Linked DNA regions of Homo sapiens: region 1 is linked to region 2. The links are contacts of gene promoters, found by promoter capture Hi-C in blood cells and fetal thymus (Javierre and others, 2016). All regions are on one chromosome and are shown on one strand. The core of a region is centred on a gene start or on the middle of the fragment in contact, and the rest is flanking DNA. Distances in the headings are between cores, read along the strand shown.

What was found. Contacts are between HindIII fragments. The CHiCAGO score rates a contact against its expected background, and 5 or more counts as called.
Region 1: a fragment that was not itself captured here is called in contact with the fragment with the promoter of IPO4 in region 2 in 1 of 17 cell types (total B cells); the score reaches 6.8 in total B cells.

The regions. Positions count from the first base shown.
Region 1 is chr14:21,470,092-21,474,317 of GRCh38, forward strand. The region is part of intron 3 of RAB2B (RAB2B, member RAS oncogene family); the gene reads right to left. Among named protein-coding and RNA genes, the nearest start is that of RAB2B, 4.8 kb to the right of the region's middle. The HindIII fragment of the contact is 2,798 bases long and covers 230-3,027 here.
Region 2 is chr14:24,186,690-24,191,404 of GRCh38, forward strand. IPO4 (importin 4) reads right to left here and starts at 2,127. Exons shown (of 30, transcript NM_024658.4): 1 at 2,030-2,127; 2 at 1,863-1,949; 3 at 1,655-1,734; 4 at 1,527-1,568; 5 at 978-1,107; 6 at 711-890; 7 at 396-461; 8 at 189-290; 9 at 19-102. The coding sequence starts at 2,098. TM9SF1 (transmembrane 9 superfamily member 1) reads right to left here. Exons shown (of 6, transcript NM_006405.7): 5 at 3,691-3,964; 6 at 2,460-3,119. The coding sequence ends at 2,726. RefSeq lists silencers at 1,123-1,333, 1,579-1,698. The HindIII fragment of the contact is 6,803 bases long and covers 919-4,715 here.

The DNA of each region.
Region 1 (4,226 bases), core at 379-2,878, 2.7 Mb before region 2:
ACAGGCGCCCACCACCATGCCTGGCTAATTTTTTTGTATTTTTGGTAGAGATGGGTTTTCACTATGTTGGCTAGGCTGGTCTTGAACTCCTGACCTCATGACCCACCCGCCTCGGCCTCCCAAAGTGCTGGGATTACAGGCATGAGCCACCGTGCCTGGCTTATTATTTCCTTTTAAAAATGGGGAAAATGAGGCTCACACAAGTTTAATAAACGGCCCCAAATCATAAAGCTTATTAAGTGCTAGAGCCATAATTTAAACTTAGGATCTTAGTACTTCCTAGGACAAAAACTTGTCCTCTTAGCCACTATATCATATAACCTAAACTGGGGTTTGTAGGTGAGAAGAGAATTCCAGTATACTAACTCTAAGGTTAATTTTCCAACAACAGAAGAATCTCTTTCTATAAGAATCATAGAAACATGTGAGTGAGTTGCATAGCTGTTAGAGAATCAGAATCGGAAAATAAAAACTAATTCTGAAGTCCCCTGTCATAATACTAATAATATTTTAAGATTAAAAAAATACTTACAGTTTTATATTTACTCCCTAATGTCTTACGTTATTTGGGTCTTGTTTTCCTTTTAGCACTTACTTTTTCTCCTCTTCTGCTATGGTTGTAAGCCTCCCTCTACTTCCCTCACAGCCTACCAAGAACTAAAAGGGAAAGTTTGAGGGAGGCCCACATGATGGTTCAATCACATGGCAGCATTTATCTTTAGCAGCTGAAAATGCTATCAGTGGGTCATGAGAAAACCTTTTAAAATCAAATCACTCACCAGGCGCAGTGGCTCATGCCTGTAATCCCAGCACTTTGGGAGGCCAAGGCGGGCAGATCACGAGGTCAGGAGTTTGAGACCAGCCTGACCAACATGATGAAACCCCATCTCTGCTAAAAATACAAAAAAAAAAAAAAAAAAAAAAAAAAAAAAATAGGTGGGCGTGGTGGCGCACGCCTGTAATCCCAGCTACTCAGGAGGCTAAGGCAGGAGAACTGCTTGAGCCCGGGAGGCAGAGGCTGCAGTAAGCCAAGATGGCGCTATTGCACTCCAGCCTGGGCAACAGAGTGAGACTCTGTCTAAATTAAAAAAAAAAAAAAAATCACTCTACTTCATCTCATTCCAGTTCATGAGCCAAAGTTTGTGAACCAGTAAGCTAGAAAGAGTGAGCAGTTCAATTTGGTCTTGTCTATATCAGTCTCAGGTATCCTTGGCCATCCCCAGTAAAAAAATCTGAAGCAGCAGGCTGGGCACCGTGGGTCATGCCTATAATCCCAGCACTTTGGGAGGCCAAGGTGGGCAGATCATTTGAGCTCAGGAGTTTGAGACCAGCCTGGGCAACATGGTGAAACCACGCCTCTAAAAAAAATACAAAAAATTAGCCAGGTGTGATGGCACACATCTGTAGTCCCAGCTACTTGAGGGGCTGAGGTGGGAGGACTAGTTGAGCCGGGGAGGTTGAGGGTGCAATGAGTGGAGATGGTGCCACTGCACTCCAGCTTGGGTGACAGAGCAAGACCCTGTCAAAAAAAAAAAAAAAAGAAAAGAAAAGATGCAGCAGCAACGAACTAAGATGAAGGTTTTTTTTTCCTTTTTTTTTTTTGAGAGGGAGTCTCGCTCTGTTGCCCAGGCTGGAGTGCAGTGGCATGATCTTGGCTCACTGCAACCTCCGCCTCCCAGGTTCAAGTGATTCTCCTGCCTCAGCCTCCCCAGTAGCTGGCATTACAGGCGCCCGCCACCACACCTGGCTAATTTTTTTATTTTTAGTAGAGATGGGGTTTCACCATGTTGGCCAGGCTAGTCTCAAACTCCTGACCTCAGGTGATCCGCCTGCCTCAGCCTCCCAAAGTGCTGGAATTACAGGCATGAGCCACGACACCCGGCCTAGATGAAGGTTTGATAAGATAATTAATAGCTTTCTAATCTCTCCCAAGTGGAAGCATCATACTATATTAAGATATACAGTTTGAAGTATCAACTCCTAGAAAGTCAGATACACCATTTTCCTAAGAATCAAAATGCATTCCTTCCAATGAACGGTTTATTAAGGAAAAAAAAATTTTAATTGCATTCCAAAGTAAAATACAAACCAATTTGATATTATTTGATCAGTATTTTATATTACAGTAAAATACCTATTCATTAGCATGATTATTTAGGAATACGTGTATACACACACACACACGATTTTTTAAAATATGCTTCTCTAAATCCACATAAATGCCAGAACAAAGACAACAAAAACCTTTGGACAACCTGATCTCTTTAAAATACCTATCACAGTAATCCCTAAACATTTTCATGTAGGATGGGTTTGGAAGTAAGTGAGAGAATGGGTCAATAAAGTGGGAAGCTAAGATGGGTAAACAATGGGCAGGAGATCAGGGCTGACAACGGAGAAATGACCAGACTTACCCAAAAGGCGACAGACTAGATGGACACATTATTATACGTATGAATCTTTTAAAATTTTCAAAATATATAGAAAACCACAGTGTTCTGAAACTGGTTCCTTTTTATGATTTAGCAAATATTAATCTCAAGACAATTTTAAGAGGGAACAGAAAAGAACTAGGCCAGTTGGATGACCATGTAGTTCTTAAGGATTCTGTCCAAAGTCGTGGCTCTCAACTTTCCTTTTTTGTTTGTTTTTCTATGTATGCATTCTCAGCAGAATCAAGCTCTCAACTTTCTTACTTTCATGATCCAACCATGTCCCATATGAGTGCTTAAAAAAAAAAAAAAAAGGCCATTGCCATGACCATTCCATTAAATGGCACTTATTGGGTTTTTTTCCCCAGCATCAAAACATTCATCTGGGCCAGGTGCCAAGGCTCAGGCCTGTAATCCCAACACTTTGGGAGGCTGAGGAGGGCGGATCACTTGAGTCCAGGAATTCGAGACCAGCCTGGGAAACATGTTGAAACCCCCGTCTCTACAAAAAATACAAAAATTCCCCAGTGCAGGGGATCAGGGGATAGATCTGTAGAGATAGACGGATAGATGGATGGATAGACAGATGAACTTAAGCTTCAACTACTTTTAAGACATACACTTGCGTGTGGTGAGGAGCATTGGGGAGGGAAGGAGAGGAAAGGGAGGAAAAGAAAAAAGGAAAAATAATGTGTACACTGTTTGCAGATATAATGGCTTTAGCTCTCAGTTCAGAGAAGAAACAGAATCACATAGTAAGAAGTAAGCAAAAAAAGTAAGAGATTTTAGCCAAATATTATTTACTAGCTATTTACTAGCTCCCTTTAACTAGAATGGAGACTAAGGTATTATTTTACTTAGGGGGAAAAATGTACAAATCAAATGAGATAATGCACATGAAAGCAATTTATCTGGATAGGGCAAAACTACACTAAGCCAAGCTAAATTTTGGCATTACTACATGTATCAAATTTGAAAATATGTACAAGCTTTTGACAGAGTTTCCATTTCTGGGCAGATATTCCACAAAAATTCTCAAACATTGGCATAAAAACTTTGTAAATAAGGATGTTCAGGCTGGGCACTGTGGCTCACGCCTGTAATCCCAGCATTTTGAGAGGCCTAGGTGGGTGGATCACCTGAGGTCAGTTCAACACCGGCCTGGCCAACATGGCAAAACCCCATCTCTATTAAAAATACAAAAAACGTCCGGGAGTGGTGGCTCACACCTGTAATCCCGGCACTTTGGGAGGCTGAGGCGGGCGGATCACGAGGTCAGGAGATCGAGACCATGCTGGCTAACACGGTGAAACCCCCTCTCTACTAAAAATACAAAAAATTAGCCAGGCGTGGTGTCAGGCGCCTGTAGTCCCAGCTATTCGGGAGGCTGAGACAGGAGAATGGCACGAACCCGGGAGGCGGAGCTTGCAGTGAGCTGAGATCACGCCACTGCACTCCAGCCTGGGCAACAGAGTAAGACTCCGTCTCAGAAAAAAAATACAAAAAATACAAAAAACATTAGCCACGTGTGGTGGTGGGTGCCTGTAATCCCGGCTACTCAGGAGGCTGAGGCTGGAGAATTGCTTGAACCCAGGCGGTGGAGGTCGCGGTGAGCCAAGATTACGCCATTGCATTCCAGCCTGGGTGACAAGAGTGAATCTCTGTCTCAAAAAAAAGAATGCTCAGTGAAATTCTGCAATACTTAAAAATTGGAAAACAACCCAAATTTCTATCAGTAGGATGATGGTTACATAAATCATGCTACTGACATTCCATGACTACGCAGTGGTTAAA
Region 2 (4,715 bases), core at 877-3,376:
CAATGGGCACTCACTTACCTTGCTCTTGACTTTGACCAAGAAAGTGAGGCAGCAGAGAATACGTATGCGTATCGCATTGCCCAGGGCCACATTTCTAGCTACCTGTCCACAGAATAATAAAAATCAGCGACAGGGAAGGAGAGTCCCAGCAGAGCATGTAGCAGGGGCCATGTCCACTCCAGGCTCACCTCCAGGCAGAATGTGAGGACTTCAGAGAGGTAGGGGGTGATGACCGGCACCTCTGACTCCAACAGTTCATCCAAAGCCTCAAGGGCCTCACAGGCCTTTGCCTGACAGACAAACAAGGCACAAGGTTACCATGCTCTTCTTCAGTGGGCCAAACTGGACACTTCTGCACTCTCCTTCCAACAGAGCTCCTGCCCACCTGTCCTCACCTCATCTATGGGGATCAGAGTCTGCATGGCCATGATCAGCTTGGGCACCAACATCCGAGCGAGAGGCTGAGGGACACATCACAGAGAGCATGATGCAGCCCAATCTCACACCCCAGCAGCTGGCAGCTTCCTCACAGCCTGAATTGCGAGGAGGAGCCCAGGCATAACAGCCAGGCCCACCTACAGCATCCCCTCTCAATTGTCAGGAAGGGCCACAGGCAGGTAAAGAATCCAAAGCAGCTTTGTAACTTTTACGGGTGAGGACATGAAGGCATGAGGAAAGGGAGTCAAAGATAACGAGGGCCCACATCTCACCACATCTTCAGTGCTGAGGTAGGGAGCCATGGTGGTCAGAGTGCGCAGGGAGTAGAAGAGCAGCCCAGGAGAGCCCACCTCACCAAGAGTCTCATTCAGAAGCCGAAGAAGCTCCCGGTGGTGGGGTTGGAAGGCCTCGGGCCGGGAGGTCACCACCACACTTAGCAGCAAAAGCCCCATCTGTCCAAGAATAGAGGATGGGAGAGCAAGCTTACAAGGTCTATCCAGCCTCTCAGGCCCTCCCTCCTGCCAACCATGTGATGGTACCTCTCTCTCTGGGCTGTGGGGGCTGTGGGTACTGTGCTGAAGCAGCTGCAAAAGCTGTGGCCAGGCCTCCAAGCCTTCCTTTCGAAAAATGGTGGCTGAGAGCTGGGCCAGGCTGAGGCTCACACAGTGCCTGCAAACAGGAGAGATCTCCTCCAATCACCCTTCAATACCTTCCTCTGCACACAGTGGCCAGGCTCAATGGGGCAGCCAGGACAGAAACTTTCAGGAGGTGTGGGCACAGGGTCTTTGCCAAGTTGGGACACATGAGACAGCAGCTCAGAGGGAGCCCAACAGCACTGTGGGCATGTAATCTGGTAAGTTCAGTCTAACTTAGCCTGAATTTCAGTCTTATTCTTCTGACTTGGGTTTGGCAGATCATCATCACCCTTCCTCAAGAACTTTAGTCTTCAAAACAGCCTTAAAATCCTCACTCCACCTTGCGTCTAGAACTGAAGTCCCTGCCCCACAAGTCCCAGCCTGGAGCCGAAAAGGAAGGCAGAAACCTAGACAAAGTCGTCAAGATCCCGAGAGAAGTGGGTAGGTACTTACTCTGTTTCTCTCTGCAGGGCCGTCAGGATCAGGGACTTGAGGCTGGAACACAGGTGGCAGGTGTTTGGTACCCAGCCTGCCCAAGAAAAGTCTCCGCCTGGCCCCGCCCCACCCCAGGCCCAGCCCACCTCTCCCGTTGCTCCGCCGCCAGCCGTCGCCAGCGGGTGTTCAGTCGTCTGCGGGTCAGCACGGCCGCAAACTGGCGGATCTAGGACGAGGAAGCAAGCACGTGGGGGTCCGGGCAGGAAGGTGCTGAGCGGACCGCAGTGGGCGAATACTGGGGCTTGACCGGTGGCGTACAGTGGGAAGCTCGGAGGGGAGAGTCAGGGGTCTCACCTGGGGGTCGGCCGCCGAGGCTAGCAGGTCGCAGAGAGCCGGCAAAGCGGCGGGGGCCCGAAGAACGATCTGGAGCTGTTCCGTGGCCTGGGGGGAAGCTAGGGGTGAGAGTTGGGCCTTTCCCGCAACCTCCCGCTCGCCCTGGCCCGGTTACGCCTGCTCCGTACCCGACGGATGCGCTCGGTGTCCGGTAGCAGCAGCTCCCGTAGGAGCTGCTCTAGCCCGGCTGACTCCATGGCAGCAACTGAGCCGCCGCTACTGGGCCGAAAAGGGGAGGGGGAGGGACAGCACGTGGAGGTTCTGACACCCACTTCCGGAGGAAAGGGCGTTGCTGCACGCCCCGCGGGTTGCCAAGGTGATTCAATTCGCTTCCCACAAAGAGGTCCGGCTCCTCCACTTCCGTTAGGCTGAGCACCGGCTGAATCGCGGAAACCCGACTCTGGCAATGTAGGTTCCCCACGCCGGGAGTTCCCAAGCTGGGTTGGAGAACTCGAGCTTCGGGCATTCAGTGGCCAGCTCGGCTTTATAAAGGACCGTGCCCTTAACAGCAGGGCTCGAGTTCCTATATCCAGACCAAAACCTCCAACTGCATGAGCCTTTTTCTTAATAAATTTTATTTTGGTAATTGTAAAAAGAAAAATCAGGACCAAAACTAAAGGCAACTTAAAAAGTTCAAATATATAATCCTTATGTGATAGAGATTTATAATTTCCAGGCCCTCTCTGGGGAAGGAATGCCCAAAGGGCAAAAGGGAAGGCAACAATGCCATCACACAATTCAGTCAATCAGAAGAGAAGCTGGTAGGAGAGTTCAACAGGGCATGAAGAAAGGGAGAGAACAGCAATAGTTCTGCCATACAGAACTCAGTCCATCTTGAGGTTAACATAGATATACCGGATGAACTTTAGGGAAGAAAAAAAGGAGATGGTGCCCAGCATGAGGAAGAAGACATAACCAGTGAGTAAGGAGTAGCCGAAGAACTCTACTGTCTGTACTGCCCCAGACATGTTGGAGCGCCGGGCATAATAGAAAACTGAGTAGAGGAAGATGAAGAGGCCGGTGGAGCCAACACTCAGCACAGATCGCCACCACCAGCGGTAATCCTCCCCAGACAACTGGAAGTAGGTGAGTGCAATGGAGATGCAAGCCCCCACACTCAGCAGGATGGCGAAGACAAAGAAGAGGATGCCGTACAAAGTGTACTGCTCCCGACCCCATACTGTGGCAAAGATGTAGTACAGCTCCACAGAGATGGCACTGTGAAGAAAAGAGATGATACACAGCATTAAAGGGCTGTGCACCATCAGCACAGTGGCTGGGCTGAAATCCAGCCCCCACCCTCTCCCATGTTGCTGGGTCATTGTGAAAAGTGAGTTCACTCCACTCTCTGCCCCAGATCTCCTGGCTTCATGGGGATTTTTTGCCTATGATTAGCCGCTCTCACTTCAAGAATATCTTCCCTAATAGATTGAGGGCAGGGATCTTGTCCATTTTATTCCACTTTATTCTTTGCCTGGCACAAAGAGGTATTCAACAAAGTAAATGGGTCATCAAATGGGCTTTAAACCCCACATGATGTCCATAGGCATTAAAGTCAGAAACCAGGAAGGTGAAGGGGGAAATGTCTCCGGAGAGCTTTATAAGTGAGACACTCTCATATCATTCAAGCTCAGTCCTGCTTGGGGATAGGAGGAACCATTTAATGATCTCTGAATGGTACCACTGAACCAGGGATCAACGGGTTGGGTTAGGGTACTGGATGAGTAGGGACAGGAAAAATTGAGGTCAGGAACCTGACAGTAATAGCCATGGAATAAAGGGAGGATACCTGAAAGGCAGGAAGCCTCCAACAGTCATGTGGATGACAGTAGACTTGTACCAGGGCTGGGGTGGAATCTCCCGGGCGATGTTCTTGGTGCGACAGGGTGCATCAAAGGGGCTGGCGTTGTTCTTCCCAAAGATGCCTCCAATGACAGTGAGGGGAAAGCCCACCAGCAGCCAAACCGTCAGAAGCAGCAGGATGGTTGTGGCTGGCAGAGCCTGTGTCGAACCATTGGCCCAATGCACTGAGTTCACCACACTCCACGTCAGGAAGAAAGGCACTGCAGGGATGGGCCCCCGGAGGGAGGGTCAACACTAGGAGCTACATCTCTAAGGGCACCCACTTACATCCAGGACCAAAAGGGGAGGGGGCTGAAGCAGCCTGCCACTCTAACGGCAGACTCATGCTCCTGGATGTCCCTGCAGAGTCGACTGCCTTCACCTCCACCCTTTCAGGTCCCATTATTCTTTGTTCTGTGTTTTTTTTTTTTTTTTTTTTTTTTTTTTGAGACAGAGTCTCGCTCTGTCGCCCAGGCTGGAGTGCAGTGGCGCGATCTCTGCTCACTGCAAGCTCCGCCTCCCAGGTTCATGCCATTCTCCTGCCTCAGCCTCCCGAGTGAGTAGCTAGGACTACAGGCGCCCGCCACCACGCCCGGCTAATTTTTTGTATTTTTAGTAGAGATGGGGTTTCACTGTGTTAGCCAGGATGGTCTCGATCTCCTGACCTGGTGATCTGCCTGCCTCAGCCTCCCAAAGTGCTGGGATTACAGGCATGAGCCACCACACCCGGACTCTTTGCTCTTTATCTTACCAACACCATCCCCCAACCCGGTGTCATTAAGGATCCAGGTAGCTACTACATAATCTGAGAGTAGCACAAATCCATCTGCCTCCAGGGGCCTGTCTTGCCTTGGAGTTGGTAATTCCTAGCATGAGACATTCCTTTGGATTAAGGCCCTGTTTTCAGAAAGCCTTGGTTCAAATATAAATGTGATGGGATAAAAATCAGACACACAGAATTGGGAACAAGAA